Regions from separate parts of the Homo sapiens genome. Here region 1 is linked to region 2. The links are contacts of gene promoters, found by promoter capture Hi-C in human tissues and cell types (Jung and others, 2019). All regions are on one chromosome and are shown on one strand. The core of a region is centred on a gene start or on the middle of the fragment in contact, and the rest is flanking DNA. Distances in the headings are between cores, read along the strand shown.

The links. Contacts are between HindIII fragments. The study calls those that stand out against the background at their distance.
Region 1: a fragment that was not itself captured here is called in contact with the fragment with the promoter of EHD4 in region 2 in 1 of the 25 tissues and cell types used here (spleen).

The regions. Positions count from the first base shown.
Region 1 is chr15:40,966,580-40,970,272 of GRCh38, forward strand. The region is part of intron 3 of LOC105370789 (a long non-coding RNA gene); the gene reads left to right. Among named protein-coding and RNA genes, the nearest start is that of CHAC1, 15 kb to the left of the region's middle. RefSeq lists an enhancer at 1,514-2,165. The HindIII fragment of the contact is 7,984 bases long and covers 1-3,693 here.
Region 2 is chr15:41,970,790-41,974,642 of GRCh38, forward strand. It overlaps EHD4 (EH domain containing 4), which reads right to left and starts at 1,768. Exons shown (of 6, transcript NM_139265.4): 1 at 1,470-1,768. The coding sequence starts at 1,705. PLA2G4E-AS1 (PLA2G4E antisense RNA 1) reads left to right here and starts at 1,974. Exons shown (of 4, transcript NR_120334.1): 1 at 1,974-2,209; 2 at 3,015-3,169. RefSeq lists silencers at 1,210-1,479, 1,580-1,649, 1,690-1,819. The HindIII fragment of the contact is 6,706 bases long and covers 1-3,853 here.

The DNA.
Region 1 (3,693 bases), core at 108-2,607, 1.0 Mb before region 2:
ATGTAGATAGTTTCATCTTGGACAGAATCGGAGAATTTAAGAGGAGAAAACTATTTGTCCAGCAGTAAACAATAAAATGGTTCATCTCCCTTGGACGGCATATTTGCAGTCATGAATGTTTATGAAGAGTATTTGCTAATGTTAAGAAACATTTTAATCTCTTTACATAACTATTAATGTTATTACTGTAGTGTTAAGTGGGACAAAAAGCATACAAAATTAGACATATAACGTGAGTGTAATCCTGTTTTTTAAAAAGCATGTAAATGTGTCTGGAAGGAATCTTAAACTGTCAACATAATTTGCCTCCCAGGAGGGGAACCGGGCTCCAGGGGATGGGATGGGAGAGAGACTTTCTTTTTATGCCCTTTTGTATGTTTTTAATTTTGAACTGTGCAAGTTTATCATGTATTCATAAGTAGAGAAGTAAAAAAATAGATCTGACAAAAAGCTTTTATGCCAAAAAGAGAAGGTCCACAAATAACACTCAGAGGGTAAAGAGGTGCTCACTTTGGTGATGGGCGGTGAAGAGGGGCTCCCTTCTCTACCGAGAGAAAAGCTGGTCCTATGCCCAGATAAACCAAAACATCAGCCTTACAAACCGGTGCAAGTGATTATCAAAGCTCAGCATCTGAGGCATAACAAAGACATACCTGCTTTAAAATATTTCCCCATGGCGCCTTAAATTGCAGCCTTTGGAGTCATTCCTTAGTCTGAAGTACAGCTTCTCCAAAGTCTCCTTGCAAACATTCAGGGGTAGCGGGGGTTACCATGTTATCTTTGTTTAGTGTTATATTATTTTTTGAGATGGAGTCTTGCTCTCTGGCCCAGGCTGGAGTGCAGTGGCATGATCTCAGCTTACTGCAACCTCTGCCTCCCAGGTTCAAGCTATTCTTCTGCCTCAGCCTCCTGTGTACCTGGGATTACAGGTGCTGCCGCCATGCCCGGCTAATTTTTTTGTATTTTTAGTAGAGACGGGATTTCACCATGTTGGGCAGGCTGTTCTGGAACTCCTCACCTCCAGTGATCAGCCTACCTCAGCCTCCCAAAGTGCTGGGGTTACAGGCATGAGCCGCCGTGCCTGGCCATGTTATTTTATCACATGAACTGAATTGAAATAGGGAGACACACTATAAGAAAGTTTTAACTGGTGTCTCACTCCTGTAATCCCAGCACTTTGGGAGGCCAAGATAGGAGGATCACTTGAGCCCGTGAGTTTGAGACCAGTTTGAGCAATACAGTGAGACCTTAGCTTTACAAAAAAAAATTTTTTAAAAAGTTCTGATTGAAGTCATTTCTTGTTTTTGAGTTTTCTTAATTTTCCCTAAAAATATAAACTTTCTCTTAATAGCACTGATTATAAAATAGCACATGATCAAGTAGCAAATTTGGAAAATACAGAATGTTATAAAGAATTTAAAAATCAGGCATGGTGGCTCACACCTATAATTCACGTACTTTGGGAGGCAGAGGTAGGAGGATCACTTGAGTCCAGGAGTTCAAGGACCAGCCTGGGCAACATGGCAAAACCCTGTCTCTTAAAAAAAAAAAAAAAAAAAAAAAAAAAAATCAGCTGGGCATGGTGGAAGGCACCTATAGTCTCAGTTACTCAGAAGTCTGAGGTGGGAGGATCACTTGAGCCTGGGAGATTGAGGCTGCAGCGAGCCAAGATCATGCCGCTGTACTCCAGCCTAGGCGACAGAGTGAAACCCTGTCTCAAGAAAAAAAAATTTAAAAATTGAACCATGTGCATCACATCCCTGAGGGAGCACTGAGCCTGGCACATTCCAAGAGAAAAAAAAATGTTAGATAGCAGGGTCGCAGGCTAAAGTTGCAAGGCCTGAGGATCCCATTAGTTCTGCAGCCTTTGTTGAGCCCAGCAGGAAACCACTAAGGACTTGGAAGAACAGTGACAGAAGTGTTTTTTGTTTGTTTACATGCCGGGTCTTGCTATTGTTGTCCAGGCTGGTCCTGAACTCCTGGCCTCAAGCAATGCTTCCACCTCAGCCCCCCAAGTATCTAGGATTACAGGGAAAAGCCACTGTGCCTGGCTCAGTGACAGGTTTTTAAAAGAACACTTGAGCTGGGCCGGGCACAGTGGCTCACACCTGTAGTTCCAGCACTTTGAGAGGCTGAGGCAGGAGGATGGCTTGAGCTCACAAGTTCAAGATCAGCCTGGGCAACACAGATCCCATCTCTACGTTTTTTTTTTTTTTTTTAAATTAGCCAGGTATGATGTCGCACCCTTGTAGTTCCAGCTACTCAAGAGGCTCAGGTAGGAGGATCTCTTGAGCCTGGGAGGTCAAGGTTACAGTGAGTCGTGATCATGTCACTGCACTTCAGCCTGGGTGACAGAGTGACATCCCTGTCTCAAAAGACAACACTTGAGCTGTAGATTGTATCACGATAAGAGGTATCCATTATGCTTGGAGAAATTTAAAAATGAGATAAAGGGTATTCTGGAATAGGCTGTTCATATGTACTAGAAATAGAAAGGAATATGAGAAGTAGGATATGCTAGAAATACAGAAATAAAATGACATAAAAGAACTTAGAAATCATTCATAATTCCACCATCTAGGAAAGCTGACTTCCTTCTAGTGCTCCCTCTTTGTGCCCTACTTTTCTCCTAAGAGTATATTCTGAGCATTTTCCCATGATACCAAATATTCTTGAGAATGATTTTTAATGACCACCTAATCATTCTATCATATAGATATGCAAACATTTATTTCACCAGTCCTATGTTGTGAGGCTTTTGGGTTGTCTCAATTTTTTGCTAGGTTCAATTATGCTGTCACGGACTTTTCGTCCAAGTTGCATGTAACGGAAAACCGAGTTCAAACAAGCATGAAGCAAACAGGAGTCAGTGGTGAAACCCAACAGTTAAGAGGAAGGGAGCTTTGGGTAAGGCTCAGTCAGGGATCCTGCTCCATTTCCCTGGAGTTTGCCCTTCTCTGTTGGCAGTGGTGCCCTCAGGCTGGCTCCTCTGCAGCCCTTGGGTGATAAACTTTTCTGTTCATGACCATGGGAGTGGCCTGTTTTGCTCTGACTGGGCCACCTGATGAAAGGTTAGGGATGAGGGAGGGAAGCTAGCCCTGACTGCCTTGGGTCTGGGTTCCCTGTCTGTCCTTGAGCGGGCAACTGTGGCAAGACGTAAGGGTGGCTGTTGCGTGATGTCGGGGGTGGGGGGAAATTTTGAGGAGATAACCAAAGAACATCCTCTGGCTACTCAGAGAGGGCCTGTAGACCAGCAGCCTCCACATCACCTGGGAGCTTACTGGATATGACTCCCAGACCTAGCAGATCAGTCTGCATTTTTAATAAGAGTCCCAGGAGACAGTTCTCACATTAAAGTTGAGAGGCCCTGCCCTCTGGCACCCTTGTGTAGGGATCCCTGAAAATAGAATGGCTGGAACAACAGCAGGGATGTTTTAAAAATTTTTTTTTTTTTTTGAGATGGAGTTTCTCTCGTTGCCCAGGCTGGAGTGCAATGGCGCGATCGCTGCTCACCGCAACCTCCGCCTCCCGGGTTCAAGAGATTCTCCTGCCTCAGCCTCTTGAGTAGCTGGGATTACAGGCATGCGTCACCACGCCTGGCTAATTTTGTATTTTTAGTAGAGATGGAGTTTCTCCATGTTGGTCAGGCTGGTCTTAACTCTCGACCTCAGGTGATCCACCCGCCTCGGCCTC
Region 2 (3,853 bases), core at 518-3,017:
TATGTTTCAACAGTACCGCTTCCCACTCTTGTACCACTTGGCCATAACACTTTATTATCCCTAGTACCTAAAAACTAGACAGTATTACTGAGACCTTAAATGTGACATTTGTCATCTTTCAAGGTGCCAGTTACTGTAATACAGCTATGGTTCATTTTGAGTGTCTGGGTGACGGTGACATATTTAATTCTATTTTTGTCTTGTCCATAAGCACCAAATAAAGCAATTTTGAAATTACTTTCTTCACACTCAATTTATTATCTAGAACGACATTTCAATACACAGTATATTTGTTTTGTGGAATTCATTCGCAGTGTATCTGGAGGCCTGGATTTAACATATTTCCTGTAGTGATAGCTACTCTATTTGTAGGAACTATTTAGGTCACTGGAGTGGAGAAAAAGAGGTCGCTACTTAACAGAAATGGCATGTATCCAAATATAGATGCAGTTTTCTCAACACCTGTTGCACATCAAATGATGAAGAGATTGTTACAATTTCCAAAACCCTGGACCAAAACCTTAAATGATCAGCACTTTGTTTCAACTGATACACGGCTTAAGTCAGAAAAATAAGTTCTTCTTACCAAAAACAGTGAGCCTAAATATGCTGGCTGCTTTAGAAATAAAACAGGTGATCAACAAAGCAATCTGTTTCTGTCTAAATAATTTCCCAGCAAAAGTCACTTCTTTTGAAACTATATGATTTGAACCACAGGGTATGCACAGTGATTGTGTGCTTTCAGAAACACGGTAAGCATGACAAATATTTTCAGTTGTCAAGGGTAAGCGAGGAGGGAATGACCCACCTAAGAAATGGAAACTAACAAATAGTAATATGACACTCCCCCTTAGTTCCACAGGCTGGTGCGGCTGCTACACGCAGCTCACTTCCTACGGGCGGCTAAAGGCGGTGCATGAACTGAACGTAGGCGGCCTCTTTATCCCCTCCCCACAACACTGTGGGGTGGCACGTAAAGACCTCAAGGGAAGGGGGCCTGGGCGATACGCTCTCCTGCTGCCATTCATTTGTTCAAGAAATAGTTGAACAAATGAATAGTTAAACAAACTCTCCAACTAGGACTCTGTCCCATTCGGATACCCTACGCCTCTCCCCCCATTTCCATCCCTAGGCATCACTCCCTCGTCAAGAATATGCTGATTATGGCTCGCGCCCCCTCTCTCCCTTGGACCCTCCCGCCAGGGCGACCGGACGAGGCCAGCGGGAGCAACGCCTTCCGAACCGCAAGGAAGGAGGGCTCGGAGTGCGCAGGGCGCGGGTTCGCGGGACCCTCCAGCGCGCGGGGCTGGCCAGCCGGGGCGGGGCCGAGGGCACCGGGCGCCGAGCTCCGGGAGGGGTCCCCGAGGTCGCGCCGGCCGGGAGGGGCAGCGGCGGGAGGCGGCCGACTGCGGCGCACACGTGGGGAGGGCGGAGCGGGGCGGGAGCCGGGCGAGGGGCGGTGACGGTACCTGATGAAGGTGGTCTTGCCGGTGCTGTACTGGCCCACCAGCAGGATCATGGGCTTGTTCTCGAAGTCGGCGTCCTCCAGCGCAGGCGAGTGGAACTCGTGGAAGCGGTACGCCTCCTCCAGCGGCAGCACCTTGCGCAGGTAGAGCGAGCGCAGCCCGCCCGTCACCGTCTGCACCGCGTCCGCGCCGCCAGCGCGTTCGCGCCCGCCCGCCTGCCGCCCCATCCAGCTGAACATCCTGCCGCCAGTCCACGCTCGGATGGGACCCTGCTCCGGGTTCGACTCTCCCCGGCTCGCACTGAGCCGCCCCGGCCGCGCTGGCCGCCGCCCGAGGAGGGCCCCGCCTTGTGCTGCCACAGCCAGTCTTCGGCCGCTACGTCACGCGCGCTCGCCCACTATTCAGACGAGCTCTCTCAGGTCCTTCCTGATTGGATCTCTGCCAGAGAGGGCTGAAGGCGTCAGCCAATTGAGAGGAGGTTCTTAATGAATTATTGATGACGGAGTCATTCTAGAGGACTGGGCGGGGAGATGGTGTCTTCCCGGCCGGGTGGCACTGACCGGTCATGCTCAGGGCCCCCTTCTGGTTGCCGGTGCCTCACCTCTGGCCAGGTGGCATCGGCTTCCGGGTAAATCTGAGCTGCCCAAAGCGAGCCTCCGGAGGCTGCTCCATCTCCTGGAACGTTTACTCATTCAGGCCTCTGGACGTCGATACTGGGGATGAAAAGTTCAGAAAGTGGACAGGCAGGTTCTGTCTTCCCGGGGGCGGGTGGTTATGACTCCGTTTTACAGGCCAAGAGACCCAGGCTCACGGGCATAATTGACACAATCTTGAGGGGAAGTGGACTGGAATCTATTTGAGTAGCCGTTTCTCCTACTTCTCCACATTGCCCTCACTAAATTCTGGATCAGCTAAAGGCTTTTTCCCCTTAGTTTTCTTTATGTGTTTTTCTGTAAAGCCGAAAATTTAGTCATTACTCTCATTATTACATTATCCTCATTATTACAACTTTATTTCCACATATTGACATGTGAGTCATTGTCACCTCCTAGCTGTTTTTTGTTGTTGTTGTTGTTTTCTGAGACGGAGTCTCGCTCTGTCGCCCAGGCTGGAGTGCAGTGGCACGATCTCGGCTCACTGCAACCTCCGCTTCCCGGGTTCAAGCAATTTTCCTGTCTCAGCCTCCTGAGTAGCTGGGACTACAGGCGCTCACCACCATGCCCAGCTAATTTTTGTATTTTTAGTAGAGATGGGGTTTCACCATATTGGTAAGGCTGGTCTTGAACTCCTGACCTCAGATGATCCGCCTGCCTTGGCCTCCCAAAGTATTGGGATTATAGGCGTGAGCCACCGCCCCTGGCCTGTTTCTTTTCTAGGTTAAAAGGATACTCACTTATCTAAGTTGAGATTGGGGGAAATAATCACCTTTTGTGTCCTTGATTGTAGCTTAGGAATATTTCTTAGTTGTTTTAGAGCATTTCTCAAGTGTGATCCATGGGGCCACCTGCATATATGCATTTATGAGCTGGGATGCTTGTTAAAATGCAGATTCCTGGTCTTCAGTCCAGACCTACTGAGTTAAAATATTGAGGAGAGATGGAGCTCAACAGATGCCCTAGGTGACTCTGATGTGGCCTAAGTCTGGGGAAACAGTACACCCTGCAGTACTTCTCCAACCTAACAGAAATGCGGATTCTGATTCGGTAGGTATGGGATGGGGCCCATGACTCTACATTTCTAACAGGCTCTCGGGTATTGCCAATGCTACCCATCCCTGGACCATACTTGGAGTATGAGAGAACAGGACTTTGCATCAAAAGATCTGGGTTTGAACCTTGACTATGTAAATTAATGGCTGTGTGATTTTAAATGTGATGAGTTACCTCTCTGCCCTAGTTTCCTTAAGAGCAAAATGGAAACTCCTTTGGAGTTGTTGTGTGGGTCACATAGTTGGAGGGAATTGTATGTAACTAGGGAAGTGAAAAGAAAGCCAAGGGAAAATAAAGTTAGACATCTGCCTTGTGTCAAAATAAAACAAAGATTGAAATGTAAAAAGAAAATGAAACCACTGCACTACTAGAAGAAGGTACAAGAGATTTATACAATTTGGCGGTGGAAAAGCCTTTCTAACCAACATTAAGGACAGAAATTATGAAAGCAAAGGCTGACATATTTGACAACAAAAGTAAAAGCTTCGATGTATTTTTTTAGAATACATAAAAACAAACGGATATAAATACAATCTTACCATATGATGCAGAAATCAGCTCCTTAGTATTTACCCAAATGAATTGAAAACTTATATCCACAGAAAAGCCTGTACATGGATGTTCATAGTGGCTTTATTCATAAGTGCCAAAAATTGGAAGCAACTAACATGTCCTTCA